Linked DNA regions of Homo sapiens: all the other regions are linked to region 5. The links are contacts of gene promoters, found by promoter capture Hi-C in human tissues and cell types (Jung and others, 2019). All regions are on one chromosome and are shown on one strand. The core of a region is centred on a gene start or on the middle of the fragment in contact, and the rest is flanking DNA. Distances in the headings are between cores, read along the strand shown. Region 1 overlaps LMF1 (lipase maturation factor 1). Region 2 holds the start of LUC7L (LUC7 like). Region 3 holds the start of SOX8 (SRY-box transcription factor 8). Region 4 holds the start of MRPL28 (mitochondrial ribosomal protein L28). Region 5 holds the start of RHOT2 (ras homolog family member T2).

Region 1 (3,846 bases), core at 972-3,471, 270 kb before region 5:
CAGGAGGACATGGTTCATGATTAAGTCCCTACTACACACTCTAGATAGGCCTCCAGCAAAGTTCTTTGCACTAGGCCAGAAACTGGAAGATTTCTTACAAATTTACAACTAGCCTGCCCCAAAATGGGGAGCATAAAATTTAACAAATATTTATACATGAAGTCTTTTTACAGATGATAAGTAGCTGGAGCCAAATGTGTTTTTAAATCAAAAGCTTCCTATAGAAATGGGAGCCCCCATCCAGTGCAAGGGGCAGGGCCTGTGCTGGGGCCGTGTGCAGCATCTGCAGGGCATCGGGGGTCTTGCTGCCTCCCTAGCACAGAGACCCCAACGACCTGTCAGTCAACAGAGACCCCAGCAGCCTGTCGGTCAACAGAGACCCCAGCAGCCTGTCAGTCAACAGAGACCCCAGCGGCCTGTCAGTCAGGTGTGGAGGCTCACAGGGGAGCAGGTTCCTGACCTCACTAGGCAGTCAGAGGGAGCGTGTTAACCCCGACCATCCAAAAGCAAAATCTACGTCCCACTGTCCAGGAAAGGACTTGAGTTTCTTTAAAGAACAAAACAGCAGAACAAACCCAGAAGAACTCCACGGAGTCGGTATCTTCTAACGTGAGTTCCAACTGTTGAAAATGTAATAAAAGCTATGAAAGTAATAAGACGTTTTAGTTTTTCGTGTCATTACCTTAGCTAAAACCTGCTATTTAAAGATTCTTTTATCAGGCAGCCTTGAAATGCAAAATTCAAAGCAGGTGAAGTGACAGAAGAATGCATTTTCGAACACCCTCAGCCGATGTGAAGGCAGCTGCGTCTGGACTCACCCCTTCTCTGCACAACGCTTGTATTTTGGTGGCCCTGAGTCACTGAAACTCTTCCAGGCCTTGGTCCCTTCTGATAAAAGCGTGAGGCTGCGTCTTTTTAGCTAGGATCTCCCGCCCTGTCGCCCAGGCTGGAGTGCAATAGTAGCGCGATCTTGGCTCACTGCAGCCTGGAACTCCTGGGCTTAAGCCATCTTCCAGCCTCGGCCCCAAGGTCACTGGGACTACAGGTGTGCGCCACCACACCTGGCTAATAAAAGAGCAAAGCTTTTATTCTCTATGGATTTGAAAAATCAGCTCCTTTTCCTTTCTCCGTTCAACTAAGGTTATATATTGGGAACATTTTGGGGGTAAATTTATTTCTAGCATTAGCCAATGTGTACAGCGGTTGCTTGGAAGATTTTGGTCACGGAAAGGGGGGCAGGGAGTGTATCCTGCAGCCCACAGAGTGCCCTCTCTCCCTCCCAGCCTCCTTCCTCAGCCCACGGGGTGCCCTCTCTCCCTCCCAGCCAGCTTCCTCAGCCCACGGGGTACCCCCTCTCTCCCAGCCTCCTTCCTGAGCCCACAGGGTGCCTCCTCTCTCTCCCAGCCACCTTCCTCAGCCCACGGGGTGCCCTCCCTCCCTCCCAGCCTCCTTCCTCAGCCCACGGGGTGCCCTCTCTCCCTCCCAGCCTGCTTCCTCAGCCCACGGGGTACCCCCTCTCTCCTAGCCTCCTTCCTCAGCCCACACGGTGCCCCCTCTCTCTCCCAGCCACCTTCCTCAGCCCACGGGGTGCCCTCTCTCCCTCCCAGCCTCCTTCCTCAGCCCACGGGGTGCCCTCTCTCCCTCCCAGCCTCCTTCCTCAGCCCACGGGGTACCCCCTCTCTCCCAGCCTCCTTCCTCAGCCCACACGGTGCCCCCTCTGTCTCCCAGCCACCTTCCTCAGCCCACGGGGTGCCCTCTCTCCCTCCCAGCCTCCTTCCTCAGCCAACGGGGTGCCCTCTCTCCCTCCCAGCCTTCTTCCTCTGGAGTGAAAAGCAAATCTAGACTTCGTACTCTTTTACCTATAAATAGTGTGGACCTCTACCGGGTAAGGGATGATTTAAAAAGATATCAGAGCCACTGGGGCAGCCACACACCTGATGCGGTTGAAGAATGAGCCCTCCAGTACTCTGTCCCCGCCCACCTCCCCCACGGCTCAGATGTCGTTTGTCATGGCCTTTGCTGTGCTTTTATCGTAATGTCAAGGTGGAAAATCACAGACATATTCAAAGGTCGGACGATGTAGGGAGCCCTGGGATGGGCAGTGGGCCCTGAGGGCCGTCCCACACCCTGTAGCTTTTCATTCCTGTGGATTTCATTAGGCAACGTTGCTCCTTAATGTCTTTAGTGAGATAGAATTCACATACCATAAAACTGCATTTAAAGCAAGCTTGTCCACACGCGGCTCAGGATGGCTTTGAATGAGACCCAACACAAATTCATAAACTTTCTTAAAACATTATGAGTTTTTTTTTTTTTAGCTCATCAGCTGTCACTAGTGTTAGTATATTTTATGTGTGGCCCAAGACAATTTTTCTTCTTCCATTGTGGCCCACGGAAGCCACAAGATTGGACAACCGACAACCCTGACATAAAGTGTACAAGTCAGCGTACATATTCATGGACTCTGAAGCCATCAGCACCACGTTGAAAACATTCTGGCTGGGGCAGTTCACACCTGTCATCCCAGCACTTAGGGAGGTGGAGGCAGGAGGATCGCCTGAGTCTAGGAGTTTGAGACCAGCCAGGGCAACATGGCAAAACCTCTATAGAAAATACAAAAATTAGTGGGGCATCATGGTGTACACCTGTGGTCCCAGCAACTCAGGAGGCTGAGGCGGGAGGACTGCTTCAGCCCAGGAGCTTGAGGTTGTAGTGAGGTTATGCACCGCTGCACTCCAACCTGGGTGATAGAATGAGACCGTGTCTCAAAAAAAAAAAAAAATTCTGATCAACCCCAGGATAAACCTGGCAATCTACCTCCTGTGTCTGTGGACCGGCCTGTTCCGTACATTTCGTGTCCACAAACCACATGCTGTGCCTTCTACGTCAGGTGTGGCACTGAGCACCTGAGGCAGGGCTCCTCATGCGGGCATTGGTGCATCCTGCCCGCCTCTTGCGGGACCATAGGTGGCAGAGGGGGTTTCTTCTAGAGCCCAAGGGTAGGTCTTGCTGTGAGGTGGGGTGGGGTTAGAGAGGTCAGAGGCTGAGGCAGGTGTGGGATGCATTGGTGTTGCTTTCCCGCGGCTCTGCCTCCTCTAGACACCCGTGCTGCTTGCCCACGCCTCTGCTGTCTGAGGGTAAGAAGCGGGTCACAGCATCACTGAAACCCCTTTTGGTTGGGATTCAATAGTAAAGACACAGGCCTTGCCCAGCCTTTCCCACCAATTCCTTTCATTTAAGATCCCTTTTCTAATGAGCTGCGCTCGAGGTCATGTGATGTCCTTAAATTTTCAGATTCCAGAGTATGACATTTGCCGTGGCATTTAATTGATGCTGCAAAAAAATAAGTATTAATTCACTCATTCGCAAAATACATATTTTTTTATTTCTATGGGTACTTAGTAGGTGTATCTTGGAATATGTTTTGGTTGCCTGTTCTGGGCCTGCCTGTGTGTGAGCCGTGGGGAGGGGCTCCTGTTCCCCTAATGCCCAGCGGGCAGGTCCTCCTCGCAGGGCTTCCCTGACCCCACACCGTGCTGGGTGCCAGGGTGGGCTTCACTCAGTGGGGAAACAGTGGGTTTTTGGTTGAAACAAGCCAAAGTGTTAATACTCGTTTCTTCTTTTGTTTTTCAGGTACTCTTTCGGTAAGTGAGATGCATTTAGAGAAAGCTCTGCGAGAGTTGAGCGTTGTGTGTTTGGTATGTATCTTCACGCACTTTTCCTGGCCTCTCCCCTTCCTTAGCCTCTGCCATCAGCCTTCCCAGTATGCACGGAGGGCAGTGATGGGCGCTTGTGATCTGATCCGTGCCTCCTCCCTGGATGTGGGAGCTCCTGGGCTTCCAGGCC
Region 2 (3,919 bases), core at 695-3,194, 440 kb after region 5:
ATTTGAAGGCAAGTTCTTCCACTTGAGCTGATACTGCAGATGTGGCTTCAAGAAGTTTGGTTAATGAAAAGGCTGCGTCTCCGATCTGCAGCCCCACTTCCTCCAGCGGGTCCACCGTTCGGCCGCTGCTCCTGCTCGGAACTGGCCAGCCCAAACTCACTGGGCTGCCAGGGTAAGATGCTGCAGAGGCGTCTGAAGAGGAGGGAGAAGGAGGCGGCGGGGGCGGCGAAGAAACCTGCAACTTCTCAGGGTCGGCCATGGGGAAGGGCTGGCACCGCGGAATCCGACCCGAGCAGCCCAACGGACACCCTATTTATTTATTTTAAATAGAGAGCAGGGGCCTGGCGTTCTGGCTCACAGCTGTAATCCGAGGACTTTGGGAGGCTGAGGTGGGCGGATCACCTGAGGTTAGGAGTTTAAGACCAGCCTGGCCAACATGGCGGAACCCCGTCTCTGCAAAAGTACAAAAAAAAAGTTAGTCGGGAATGATGGCGGGTGCCTGTAATCCCAGCTACTGGGGAGACTGAGACAAGAGAATCGCTTGAACCCAGGAGTCAGAGGATGCAGGAAGCCGAGATCGCGCCACTGCACTCCAGGCTGGGCGACAGAGGGAGACTCCGTCTCAAAAATAAATAAAATACGGCAGGGCGCGGTGGCTCACGCCTGTAATCTCAGCACTTTGGGAGGCCGAGGCAGGCAGATCACAAGGTCAGAAGTTCAAGACCAGCCTGGCCAATACGGTACAACACCGTGTCTACCGAAAATACAAAAATCAGCTGGGCATGGTGGCTGGCTACTTGAGGTCAAGACTTTGAGACCAGCCTGGCCAGCATGGTGAAACCCCGTCTCTACTTAACATTCAAAAATTAGCCGGAGGGGGTGGCGGGCGCCTGAAATTCCAGCTACTGGGGAGACTGAGGCAGGAGAATCGCTTCAACCCGGGAGGCGGAGCTTACAGTGAGCCGAGATCGCGCCACAGCATTCCAGCCTGGGTGACAGAGCAAGACTCCGTCTCAAAAAAAAAATAAACAAATAAAAAATAAAGACCGGGCGTGGTGGCTCATGCCTGTAATCCCAGCACTTTGGGAGGTTGAGGCAGGAGAATCGCTTGAACCCAGGAGGCGGAGGTTGCGGAGAGCCAAGATCGCGCCATTGCACTCTAGCCTGGGCGAAACTCCGTCTCAAAAATAAATAAATAAATAATAGAGGTTTAATATAATAGAAGTATATGCCAGACTATGCACACATAAGTGCATGCTATAATTCTATTATCACATAAAATAACTGCTTACATATGCCTTTTCTTTAGTCCCTGGGACAGTAGACCATGAGCTCACAAAAGGACGACCACGAGGTTGTAATCATAGAACCTAATATTAATGCCATGACTGATGGCCAAACGTGGTGGTTCACACCAGTAATCCCAATACTTTGCCGGGCTGAGGCGGGAGGATAAGGAGCCGGGGAGGTCGAGGCTGCAGTGAGCGGTAATCGCGCCACTGCATTCCAGCCTGGGCGACGGAGCAAGACCCTCGCTCTAAATAAATAAATAAATAAATAAATAAAATTCCATGCTTTATTTAACTTTCACAAAAATCATATGAGGGGCACCTTTAGAACCCTCATTTCACAGATTTAAAAAAACGAGCGTCGGGGAGCTAAATAATATGCTCACGGTTTCATGGCTAGCTTAGAAAAAGCACGGATTCATCTTGTTTTTGATTGACTGTATTTCATTTTATTGTAGTTTACCCTCCGTAGAGACTCGTTTGAGGTCCTGGGGGTCTAGAGTAAAATCAGGGTTGGGATTTTGGTTCCGCCGTTGGACAACTTGCGACCACTCAGAGCCTCAGCCTCCCTAAGCACCCACCCCAGAAACTACATTTCCCAGCAGGGCGTGCGCCGGCGCCGTCGTACTTCCTCCCGGCGTCCCCCGCGGCGGGAAAGAGCCGAGTGGGCTCGAGGCCGACGCGACCATCGTTTGTCGACGCCGCTGCCACCGCCTGCCTGAGAGAAGTCGTCGCGGCCGACCCCGTCGCCTCCGCCGGCTACCATGTCCGCCCAGGCGCAGATGCGGGCCCTGCTGGACCAGCTCATGGGCACGGCTCGGGACGGTGAGTCAGAGCGGCCAACCAGGCGAGGGTCTGGGGTGGGAGTGAGGCGAGGCCGCCGGGCGGCCTGAGGCGGGGGCCGCGATCGTCTGCGCCTGCGCCTGCGCGGGGCATCGCTCCTCCTCCCCCGCGCTCCGACCGCAGGCGCCGGGCCTTTGTCTAAGCCGGTGCGTCTCTGAGGCGGCCGTGGGTCCAGGTCGGGCTCCTCTCTCGGAGTCTGCGCCATGGATGGGGCTTCAGCCTCCTTCCTATGTACCGTCCTGCTACTTCCTCCCCGGCGGGCGCCGCGGCTCCGTGCCCCTCCGCGAACTGTGGAGTCGGCGGAGGGCTGGAATCAGCGTGGGCTCCAGGTCGCTGGCAGCCGGGTGGCAGAACTCTTCCGAGGCTCCTTGGGAAGAAGCTACACCCGAGGGAGCCGGATGGGCCTCGAAAACCTGGCCCGCTCTGGTTCTGTACCATTGCAAGGGGAACCGTAAACTGAGCTTTTCTAACGTGGGTTTCTGCCAAGTACTTTTCCAGCTGCCCCCTTCCCCCCAGCACACAGGAGAGCCTCTGTGTAGCCAGCGCTTGACAGTCGTTAGGTAGGTTGTACTGTGTAGGGAGGAGCTCAAGATCATGATGGTTGTCACAGGAGAAAGCGGTTGCATCTTTGCAAAACTATATACCTGCTGTGGTTTGTGTTTTCTTTTCTGCTGAGTAATGAAGTTGTAAGTTCACACTGGCACATTCTCAGGGCTGTGCAGATTATTTGCACTTTATTTCATAGGTGAATAAGTGCTTTTTAGCTTTCTTTGTATATTGAGTTGCTTTTGAATTGCTTCCCATATTTTTATTTCATACAAACTGAACAATTGTGGCCCCTCTATTTTATTTATAAAGGTTCAGTGTATCTTTGCCTGCCTACATCAATCTGCAAGGGAGTTGCAGAAAGCCTCATGTTCATCGAGCCGTGAGTCACAACCAATTTCTAAGCTGTTATAACAAAAAAGTGTTTGCTTTTTTTCACAAGTAACTTTAAAAGTGTAGTTTAGAAAGAAAACATTTTCAATAAAAAGACACTACATTAATCCTGGATGCTTGCAAATCCTAAAATATATTCCTCCTCTAGCGTTGCACAGCTCTGTGTTGTATACACAGACTAGCTTTAAAATTTGTCACATACCACTTTACCTTTACTTTTATGTATCATTCCCCCGACTTCCTTACTGCAGGTGTGGGCAAGAAAACTTTTCCTTTAACACTTTTCAACAGCGGGCATAAAATTCTGCAGCTGAGGTCTTGAAGAATGCAGATGGGTACAGTATGTGTTGGAGCTCACAGTGTGTATTGACTAACCTAGTTCCTTTTTTGCTTTTTTTGGTATTGTCTTGTTAAAAGTGACTCCCAGGTAGCAACTCTCTTTTTTAAGGGTGGGAACGAAAGGGACGTAGGAAGAATAGATCTAGATTATTTAACAGTCTTCGATAGAGTTTGAAAGCTTTCTTCTTCATTCAATTTTGGGCAAAATACTGCCTCTGCATTTGTTCATAACAAAAAGATTAGATTAATAAGTAGCTTTTGTTGGTGGAAATTACCAGCTCTATAAGTCACCCTTGGTGGTTCATGGACCTCTGATTAGCTTGGGTTTTGCAGTCTCATTGCCACATGTATATGTGGAGCCAATGGCCTTTTGGTGCTCAGCTGTTTACGTCTGACTCCTTGACTTCTTTGGTACAGTGATGGAGTCAGATCTCATTAAGTGTGATTCTCCATGATATAACTAGCCTCAAAAAAATGTGTATTCCACTCCAGTTGTAAATATCTTTAGA
Region 3 (4,116 bases), core at 539-3,038, 310 kb before region 5:
CTGGGAGAACCGGCCGGCGCCTGTTTGGGAAGGTTGGTATGCTTACGACAGCCAAAGAAGAACAAGCCCCACGCCTCCCATCTTCCTCCTTCTATTTCCCCCTATTCCGGGCCTGCTGTTCCCTCCCTCTGGGGCTTTCTAAGGGAGGCGGGGGAGGCGGGCAGGACCCAGCCGGCGGTGGACAAAAGCGAGGCTTCCCGGGAACGGTGCCGGCCTTCGGCGGGCAGCTGGGCTGCTGTCCCTCCATTCCCAGACACCCAGAAGCCCTGGCAGGGCCCAGGCGCCCGTCCTCACTGAGCCACAGGACACACTCCTTGGGACTCTTCCCGAGGCTCACCTCCAACCGCCTGTGCGGCAGGACTTGGGGGAGCAGGGGCCTGCCGTCCACAGCGCCCCGTGGCTGCGCCCTAGATCCAGACAGAAGGCAGGAGGTGCAAATACGCAAGCTCCAAGCTCCCTTCTTCCAGGTGAGGAGCAGGATACGGGAACCAGAGCCCCAAACCAAGAGAACCATTTGAAACCCAACCAGAGGACACTCGGTGGGGGCGGCCTGTCCTGAGCAACAAGTTCTTCACTCTGCAGTCCTAATTTCTGGAAAACTGACCGGCCCCACCACGCCAAGGCGTGCACACGGCGCACCCCGTCATCTCCACTCCTGCCCTCCCTGCTTCGGACCGAGGGTGTCCAGGAGAGGGAGAAACTGCGGGGAGGGTACTCGCAGGCAAACCTGCTGCCCACCCATCCGCCTGCCGCACTCCCTCCCCATGGGTGGTCCAGGAGCTAGAGGAGCTGAGCCCTTTCTAAGGAGGGAGCACCTCCAGAGAGCCGCATGCAACTTGCTGTCGTGCCGGGCGTGCCTCCCGGGGCTGGGGCCACTCGCAACGGCTGGAGGGCACGTCGGGGTGCCAGCCATGGCCCTCCGCAGGGTGTTCCCCGCCAGGAGAACTGGCTCCAGAGCGCACCCGCCACGAGGGTGCACACCCCAGGCGCTGCCCTCCGCGGATCCCGACTCCCATAGCTGGCGCCGGACCCCGGCTGGCCAGAGGATGTTTTTCCACTGGGACCCGCCCTGACACCCGCCCGGGGTGCAGAGCCCGGAGCCTGCGTGTGGCCACCACCTCCGCGAGCTCTGCGCCCTCCAGGCCCCCGCTCGCAGTCCGAGACCAGGGGCGGCCAAGGTCCCGAACCCCGCCCCCGGGGCGCCGGCACTCACCGCCACAGCTTGCCCAGCGTCTTGCTGAGCTCGGCGTTGTGCAGGTGCGGGTACTGGTCGGCCAGCTTGCGGCGCGCCGCCTGCGCCCACACCATGAATGCGTTCATGGGCCGCTTCACATGCGGCTTGGCTTTGAGCGCGCCGCCGCCGCCGCCGCGCACCGGCATGGGCACCAGACTCCAGTCGTAGCCCTTGAGCACCTGCGACACGGCGTCGCGGATGCAGGCCGGGAAGCGCTCGTCCGCCGCCTCCGCCGGGTCGCCCCGGGCGCCCCCCACCGCGACCCCCGCGCGGCCCAGGCCCTCGGAGCCGGCGGGAGACGGCGGCGCGTCCGAGTCCGAGTCCTCCACGTGCGACATGGAGCTGGCGGTGCCGGACGGGCTGCAGGGCGGCTGGGAGCGGGCCTCGCTCATGTCCAGCATCGGGGCCGCGCGCGGAGGGGCGCGCACAGGAGACGCGCACCGGGGCCGGCGCCCGGGGCTGCCCTGCGGTCGCTCCGGGACCCGAGGTCGCCGCGCGGTGGCCCCGACCCTCGCCCCTGCCGCCGCCGCCGCCGCCGCCGAGGCTCGGGTCCCGCTGCGGGACCCGCAACAAGTTTCTTTAAGCGGCGGCCCCGCGGCCCCGCCCCGCGCCCGGCTACCCATTGGCGGAGCGCGCCCCGATCCCCCGGAGGCGGAGCCCGGCCGCCCCCGCCCCCCCACCCATAAAGAAAGCTCCGCGGCTCTCGCCGCGCCCCCGCCTGCCCCGCCCGGCGCCGCACCACGTGGGCCAGGCGCCCCACGCCTGGAGCTCCCCTCTCTGGAGCCCCGGGAAAGGAAGCGGGGCAGGGAGGCCGGGTGGGAGCAGGGGGGTCTCCGGCGCTTCCTCTCCTCTGCGGGCGCCGCGCGGCTCCTGAGAGTCCGCCCCCCGTCCTGACGCTCAGCTAGGAAGCGGGTCCTCGGGCCCCTCCCCCGACACACACACACACACACACACACACACACACACACACACACACTCTCTCTCTCTCTCTCTCTCTCTCTCTCTCTCTCTCTCTCTCTCACACACACACACACACACACAGCCCGTCTCGCGCCTGAGGTCTCGCCCGCAGGCCGGTGGCGCGGGGTCAGCTGCTGCCTGCGGTCCAGGACAGGGTCGGTTCCGCCGCGCAGCGCCCAGGCCCAGCTCGTCCAGAGTCTGCGGACAGCGCACGTCCAGGTAACGCGCTTCAAGGGGCCGCGGCTCGGAGCTGGGGGACCCCGGGCCGCCCTGCCCATACGAGTGCGAGCGTGGAGAGCGCGGGCGGGGGCGCGGTCCCGGGGGCCGGCCAGCTGGAGGGGGCGGGAGCGCTGGGCGGGGCCTGCGCTGACCCCGGCGCTGAGTCCCTGGGGCCGCCGGGCGGATGGCGTGGCCGGACGCGGGGGCCCCGGGCCTTCCGGGCGTGACCTAGGGCTCGGGGGCGGGGAGGCCCCTCCGGCGGGGCGGCCCTGGGTGGTCCGGCAGAGGCGGAGGCCGCTCCGAGCCTGTGAGCCCTGGGCGCCTGCGGAGGCGGGGAGAGGGCGGGGTGTGCCGCCCTGGTGGGGACCGCGGGGTCGGAGAGGGGACATTGCCCCCCCCGAGGCGAACGTCCAACCGCGGGTCCGGGTCCCCGCCCAAGGCCGCCCCGCGAGGTGGCCTCGGCCCGGCCGTCCCCGAGGGTGGCTCGGATCCTTTCAACCAGCGCGCTGGAGGCGAAGGGGCTGCGCCATTCCGGGTCAGGCAGCCAACGCGGGACACGCGCGTCTCCGAGCTTGCGGCCCGCGAAACCCGGGTGACCTACCGCGCCGGTGCCCTCAAAGCCCCCACGCCCGGGCCGGTGGCCGCTGCAGCCACTGAGCCACGCGGTCTCCCCGGCCCGGTCGGCAGAAGGAGCTGGTCCGTTACTAGAAAAGTCCAGATGCAAAGTCGGGGGTCGTGCTGCCGCTTCCTGCCAGCGCACCGCACCCACCTGGGGCCGCCACCGACCGCACAGGACGCGCCTCCTACCCCCTGTTCTGGCCCGGCCGAGAGCTGGTGCCCCCAGCGGCCGCCCGCCCCCGTCCGCAGACCCCGGGGCCCTTGCTGCTTTGCATTGGGAACAACCGGAGCCAGGCCCGGAGCTGAGGGGGCCAGGGCCTTTGGAGGAAGCATTGGCCTCCAGGCTGAAGAGCAAGGGCCGTGTCACCTGCCCGGAGGGCGGTCTCATCTCTGCAGCCAGGTCAGAGGAAGCAGCGGTGGGGAGACGGAGTGCGCGAGTTGGGAGGCTCCACGCATCGTAGGTGGAGAGCTGGCTGCCAGCCTGGCCTGCCCTCTCTTCCCCGTCCCACCATCTCGCTTGGCTCCGGCACCTGCCTGGGAAGACCCACACCTCCGTCTGCAGTGCCTCTTCCCCCTGGAGGCCCTGCCCTCCGCTCGGGGTCCCCGCATCCTTCCGTGGCCCTCAGAGCATCGCCTGGGGCGCCCGCGGAACTCATCTGTTAGGCCTGGGATGCAGGCAGGCAGAAGTGGGGGTTTAAGTGGAAGCAGTGAGGGTGGGGGTCCGGTCCAAACTGTGCCACCTTCCACCCCCTGCCCCTGGGAGAGCAGACATCGCCCACTCGGGCTCACAGTGCCATCCGGGTGAGGACCTCCGTGGAGAGCTCTCTTTGCCAAAGAAAAGCAGTTGCATTAGGTCTGCGAGCAGGCAGGGTGGCCTCTTCCTGGCTCCCCATCCACCAAGGAAGCTTCAAGTCCCTGGGACACAGGTGGGGAACTCCAGCACCCCTGGAGGAAGGGAGACTGAGGTTGGGGAGTGGCATCCAGGCCCTGACTCTGGGGCACGGTGGTCTGTGCAACTGAGACCCTGCCTCAGGCTCCAACAGCGCCTGCTCCTTTCCCCAGGTTGCAGTGATCACCAGGGGAGG
Region 4 (2,807 bases), core at 1-2,500, 300 kb after region 5:
TGAGATCCCTCTGCAGATCCCAGCTGCTGTCTGCAGTGGCCCCTGGGGCCTGGGCTTGGTTACTTGGAGACCACAGGTGCCTGTGCGAGGGTGGGGCTGTGTGCTCTGCTGGCCTGTGGGTGGCTAGAGATGGGGAGAAGGACTCCCTATGGTCCTGTTCCCTGGCGAGGCTGTGGTGAGACCCATGGCGCCCAGGAGCCCTGAGCCCACCACTGGGGCCGGGAGCTGTGGACTCCGAGACCCCTGCTCCTGGCCCCTGTGTGGCCCTGATGCCAGCCTGCCTGGGGCATGGAGGATCCCCCTCTGCTGCTGTGGTCACCATAGGGACGGGAGACGGAGGTTTCCCCCAGAGCTGATGGGCACTGGGGATGCAGGCTCCCGCCCCGCCCCTCCCTTTTTCCTGGCTCTGGAGCCTTGGGTCCCTGAGAAGAGCTTCCTTGGACTGGGGTGCTCTGCTGCTCTGGGGGTTTGGCCCAGAAGGAACCCCTACCCAGCCCTGTCCACCCACCCCAGCGTTCCTGGGCCCCCCTCTGGGAGCTTCCTCTTGGTCCCAGGAGCTGCGGTGGTGTCTGCCCCCTGCACTGGGCTCTGTGCCCTGTGGGTGTTCAGGAGACTGGACTGTCTCTGCTCCTCATGCAAACCTTGTGGGGGAAGCAATGACCAGGAGCAGCACCTGGCCCCTCCCTGAGGCCTGTGAGTGTCTCGGATCCGCCCTGGAGAAGTGAGTGGCTGAGACCCGGGTGGGGCCCTCCTACCCTTGGCTCTGGGGGCTTCCCTTCTGGGTCTTGTCCGGGATATGGCCTTCCTGAAGGTCTTACCTCCCCCAGCCGCCCTGCACTTGACCACCAAAGCAATCTCTAAGCTTATAAAGGAGAAACATATATATATGGGGTTTTTTGGAGTAAAGGAAAATTCTAAGATATTAAGACATATTTTTATGTAGATCTGATCTATCTGTGTTTGGTGAATTTAATATTCTACATTGATTTTTCAAACTAAACGAGTTTTTACATTTTTTCTGTGCTCCTTCCCGGGTAGGGTAAGTGGGGCCCGGGAGAACAAGCACCGCCCCGCCCGTGCCGCCCTTCGCGGAAACGCCGGGGCCGCACGTAGCTAACGGTGCCTTGAGCTGCTGCTGCTGTATGTGGGGTGTTTTTTACGGTCCCTAAAGACGGAAGCGGGGCGGGACGAGGGGGTAGACGGATGGCTTTTACAGCCAGTCAGCGGTGGGAGGAGGGCCAGGCGCGGCAGATCGGCTTCCGGTTCCGGTGGGCTCTGAACCCTGAAAGGTGGGCGCGGGCAGGTGGGGTGTGGGGGGGCGCCGGGGCAGAAGGGGAGGGGCAGGTGGGTGCGGGACAGGGGCCGGAGTGAGAACCGGGGGCCGGGGTAGGGGGTAGCGGGTGAGAGCCGGGGGCCGGGGTAGCGGGTGAGAGCCGGGGGCCGGGGTAGCGGGTGAGAGCCGGGGGCCGGGGTAGCGGGTGAGAGTCGGGGGCCGGGGTAGGGGGTGAGTGCCGGGGGCCTGGCCAGGCTGCGACTGACTGCGAGCCCCCACCTCCCGCCAGGCTCGCGATGCCTCTACACAAGTATCCCGTGTGGCTCTGGAAGCGGCTGCAGCTGCGGGAGGGCATCTGTTCCCGCCTGCCCGGCCACTACCTGCGCTCCCTGGAGGAGGAGCGGACGCCCACTCCCGTGCACTATAGGCCTCATGGGGCCAAGTTCAAGATCAACCCCAAGAACGGGCAGCGGGAGCGTGTGGAGGACGTGCCCATTCCCATCTACTTTCCCCCCGAATCCCAGCGGGGGTTGTGGGGCGGCGAGGGCTGGATCCTGGGCCAAATATATGCCAACAACGACAAGGTGGGTCCGCAGGCGGCCTTCAGGGGCTCCTCTCAGGGCTTGGCTGTGCCGGCTCTGTGCCGGACGCCCGGGGTACCTGGAGAGACCTGGGTGGGCCCTGGGGATTACAGCCTGGAGGCGACACATCTCCGGCAAAGGAGCACGCTGAGTGAAGAACCGCAGTTCTGGCAAACAGGACTGATAAAGTAGGGGTGAGGTGGGGTGACTCAGGCCGGGGGAGCAACCAGAGGCCGTGGGGAGTCGGGGTAAAGTTAGGATGGGGAGGAGGCCTGTGTGATGAGCAGAGCAGGTGGGAGAGGCGAGCAGAGCAGGTGGGGGAGGCGAGCAGAGCTTCGAGGCTGCTTGTGGTGGACTTCCTGGCGGGACTGCTGAAGCCTGTGGGGAGACTTGTGTCACCTCCAGGTTGGAATGTGACAACCTGTAAACTGTGGGGTCGCACATGTTTCTGAAACACATGCAGCAACCATGTGACCAGGGCGGGAACGCCCAGCTTGTTGGGGAGCAGCTGACTTCTGGGTACACAGTCAGGACCCGGGTCGGGCTGGGGCGGCACTGGGCTGGGGGCCGGCCCAGTTAGCTCTAGGTCCCCAGTCTGACAGCAGTGGTTCTGTGATGGAGCCTCCGGGGGGGAGGTGAGGGCAGTTGCCTGGGCCCCCCTTGGTATGTAAGAGAAAGCAGCAGTACTCATGGAGGCTCTGTTGCACCCTCAGCTCTCCAAGAGGCTGAAGAAAGTGTGGAAGCCACAGCTGTTTGAGCGAGAGTTCTACAGTGAGATCCTGGACAAGAAGTTCACAGTGACTGTGACCATGCGGACCCTGGACCTCATCGATGAGGCTTATGGGCTCGACTTTTACATCCTCAAGGCAAGCGGGGTGGGGCGAGTCAGTGCACACAGGGTCTGGGATGGGCCAGTCAGACTCACGGGAGCCCCAGGTCAGCATCACACCGGG
Region 5 (2,528 bases), core at 29-2,528:
AGCCTTCCCTAAAACCTGCCTCCAGCCTGGTGTTGGCAGAGCAGGCACTCCCCAGTGTCACACTGGGAGCTGCTGCTGAACCCTCAGAGAAGCCTCTTCCCCGCCCACTGCCAGTGCAGGGACACCAGGCCCCAGAAGCATAACTGTGGTCAGCAAGACCCTTGGAGCAGAGGGCTCAGGACAGACACGGCCACACCTGCAACCCAACACCCTGCAAGACAGCCGCCGCCTTGGCCCCTGCCTCCCCCCTCGCTACAGACAGAGTGACAGGACCGCAGTGAGGGGTGCCAACAGCAGGGGCTGCCCTGGGTGGCTGTGGCCTGTGCCCTTGCCTGGAGATGTCCCCGGCACACGTGCTCTGGTACTGGGAGCTCCGGGTGCCCGGAGGCCGGGACGGTGGGCTGGAGCACACAGCACGGGGACGTGGCGCACACAGAGCCCACAGGAAGAGCAAACGCTGCTGCCACCCCGGCAGGAGGGAGGGAGAGCCCGCGGGGAAGGGTCCTGTTATCCCTGGAGCACCACTGGACTGAGCGGTGCCGGCTCCCAGCGGGGTGCGCTGTAGGGGCCCCGACAACCCTCAGTGCGGAGGTCACAGAATTATCAGGGCCAAGGACACCCGGAGCACCTCGGTCCAATCCCCCAGGCTGCGAAGCGGATTAGGCCGAGCCCGCGCCCAGCCCCTCCCTCGTCCCGCGCACCACGGGTACCTTGTGGATCTCCTCCCGCAGCTCCTCGTCCGTCTGCTCGGCTTCTAGGGGGACAAAGAGACTCCACTGCGGACCCAGCAGGCCCGCCGGACCGCTGCGGGCCGGGCCCCCGGGAGGCTACGGCCGCTACCTGAGTAGTCCACGATGTGGGTGGGCACCTTCTCCGGGGTGACGTCCGCGGGGATGGTGATCTCCTCCGCGCGGGGAGGGACCTGCAAGGGACCCGCGCGCTCACCAGGGACCCCCGGCTGGGCCCGCTCCCACCCCCGCGGCGGGCGTGCCCCTTACCTCCTCGGGGAACTCCTCGCCCACCAGGGACAGGATCAGCGACGTCTTCCCCACCTGGGCTGCGCGGGGCGAGGCGGTCAGCGCGAGGGCCAAGGTCACGGCGCCCCCCGACCCCCGAGACCCTCACCCCGCCTCACGGCCGCCGCAGCTCCGAGACCCCCGGGCCGGCGCCTACCCTCGCCCAGTAACAGGATGCGCACGTCCCGCCTCATAGCTGCCGCCCGGAGCCGCTCCCCGACCCGGAACCCGGCCCCGACCTGGTCCTCAAGCCTTTCGCTCTGCCCCCGCGCCCGCCCCGCACTTCCGGTTCTCGGCCCCGCGCTGTCCCCACACTTCCGGCCCCGCCCGCACAGCCGCACCAGCGAGCCGGGCGGGCCAGAGCGGACAGGCTGTGCGGCGCGCCACCGTGTGGACGCGCCGGCCACGGCGGACAGCGCAGGGTCCTGGCGCCCTGGCAGGCCGAGCGGCCATTGCTTCACGGCACCACAGGGGCCTTGACAAACAGCCGATTAAGGGACGGGCAGAGGCTGAGCTCAGGCCAGGAGTGACCAGAGACAGCCAGTGCAACAATGCAGCAATAATGCAATAAATGCCCATGTTTATTACAAGATAGAAACATTAAAGATTTCTTAGGCAAAAGGGCAACAGGTATGAAAGTATTCACAGGGCGCCAAATTTACAACAGCTTGCTCCAGGCGATTTACGTGAATCCTGGCCTGTCCCAGCATGAGGCCATTGACAACCTGGCGCCTCTGCCAAGCCTGTGTCCAGGTGCCTGGCATGACCAGGCGTGATGCCCACCACCACAGTCCCTGCTGCATCTCAGAGGCCGGGGACCTCCCACACAAGGATCTCGTTGCGGGCGGCCGTGAAGAGCAGCCTGGCGGACGGTGTAAACCTGCACAGGTGCACTGCGTTGTCGTGGCCGGCAAAGTCTTGGGCAGTCCCCATGGCACAGTCTACCAGCCTCAGCATGCACTCTGTGGGTAGACGGTGCAGGTGGGCCAGGGCCAGGACCAGGCAGCACTCAGAGGGCTCCCCCAACCCACCCAGACTGTCCCCACTGGGCATGATGCTGGTCGGGGGAGCTGGTGCTAAAAGGGCTCCTGGCTGTGCCCTCCACGTGCCACTGGGACTAGGGGGTCCATCACTGCCAGGCTGTCGGCCTGCAGCTGGGCCAGTTCCCTCCTTAAAAGTCGCTGCCACCCGTGCATTCAGGCCCTGTGCTGGGCGCTGTGCCTGGTTCCTCACCTGCCTCATCATCTCCTGACTCCAGGACCCTCTCTAGGGCAGATGTCCTCACCCCACCCCAGAGACGAGGAGCCCGGGGCACAGGTGAGGCACCTGTCTTGGAACAGGGCACCAGTCAGCCCACTTGGCCCCCACCTAAGACAGGCCCAAACTGCATCCACCAGCACTCACCAGCAAAGCCAACAGCCAGGAGGTGGGTCCCGGGGGACAGGCTCAGGGACATGGCAAAAAAGGGCAGTGGTATCTTCTCCACCACCTGTGAGCAGCCAGCGTGAGGCT

Evidence for each region. The method cuts DNA at HindIII sites, captures the fragments that hold promoters and counts their contacts. A contact is called where the count stands out against the background at its distance.
Region 1: a fragment that was not itself captured here is called in contact with the fragment with the promoter of RHOT2 in region 5 in 4 of the 25 tissues and cell types used here (liver, lymphoblastoid cells, mesendoderm cells and 1 more).
Region 2: a contact is called between the fragment with the promoter of LUC7L here and the fragment with the promoter of RHOT2 in region 5, in 1 of the 25 tissues and cell types used here (dorsolateral prefrontal cortex).
Region 3: a contact is called between the fragment with the promoter of SOX8 here and the fragment with the promoter of RHOT2 in region 5, in 5 of the 25 tissues and cell types used here (IMR-90 fibroblasts, dorsolateral prefrontal cortex, lymphoblastoid cells and 2 more).
Region 4: the fragment with the promoter of MRPL28 here is called in contact with the fragment with the promoter of RHOT2 in region 5 in 1 of the 25 tissues and cell types used here (mesendoderm cells).

What each region holds. Positions count from the first base shown.
Region 1 is chr16:934,042-937,887 of GRCh38, reverse strand. LMF1 (lipase maturation factor 1) reads left to right here. Exons shown (of 11, transcript NM_022773.4): 3 at 3,634-3,644. LMF1-AS1 (LMF1 antisense RNA 1) reads right to left here. Exons shown (of 2, transcript NR_110946.1): 2 at 3,364-3,846. Among named protein-coding and RNA genes, the nearest start is that of LMF1-AS1, 15 kb to the right of the region's middle. The HindIII fragment of the contact is 3,145 bases long and covers 649-3,793 here.
Region 2 is chr16:227,474-231,392 of GRCh38, reverse strand. It overlaps LUC7L (LUC7 like), which reads left to right and starts at 1,944. Exons shown (of 10, transcript NM_201412.3): 1 at 1,944-2,114. The coding sequence starts at 2,054. It also overlaps the pseudogene C4orf46P1. RefSeq lists an enhancer at 1,572-2,268 and a silencer at 2,101-2,330. The HindIII fragment of the contact is 19,974 bases long and covers 1-3,919 here.
Region 3 is chr16:979,442-983,557 of GRCh38, reverse strand. It overlaps SOX8 (SRY-box transcription factor 8), which reads right to left and starts at 1,788. Exons shown (of 3, transcript NM_014587.5): 1 at 1,214-1,788. The coding sequence starts at 1,635. CEROX1 (cytoplasmic endogenous regulator of oxidative phosphorylation 1) reads left to right here and starts at 1,945. Exons shown (of 3, transcript NR_164343.1): 1 at 1,945-3,957. It also overlaps a transcript of LMF1 not described here. The HindIII fragment of the contact is 8,118 bases long and covers 1-4,116 here.
Region 4 is chr16:368,981-371,787 of GRCh38, reverse strand. MRPL28 (mitochondrial ribosomal protein L28) reads left to right here and starts at 1,250. Exons shown (of 6, transcript NM_006428.5): 1 at 1,250-1,289; 2 at 1,563-1,857; 3 at 2,568-2,720. The coding sequence starts at 1,570. It overlaps PGAP6 (post-GPI attachment to proteins 6), which reads left to right. Exons shown (of 13, transcript NM_021259.3): 13 at 1-1,000. The HindIII fragment of the contact is 14,100 bases long and covers 1-2,807 here.
Region 5 is chr16:666,882-669,409 of GRCh38, reverse strand. RHOT2 (ras homolog family member T2) reads right to left here and starts at 1,278. Exons shown (of 19, transcript NM_138769.3): 1 at 1,174-1,278; 2 at 999-1,057; 3 at 841-922; 4 at 711-754. The coding sequence starts at 1,210. It overlaps WDR90 (WD repeat domain 90), which reads right to left. Exons shown (of 41, transcript NM_145294.5): 40 at 2,421-2,505; 41 at 1,580-1,978. The coding sequence ends at 1,821. RefSeq lists silencers at 811-900, 1,001-1,100, 1,161-1,500 and an enhancer at 886-1,567. The HindIII fragment of the contact is 52,780 bases long and covers 1-2,528 here.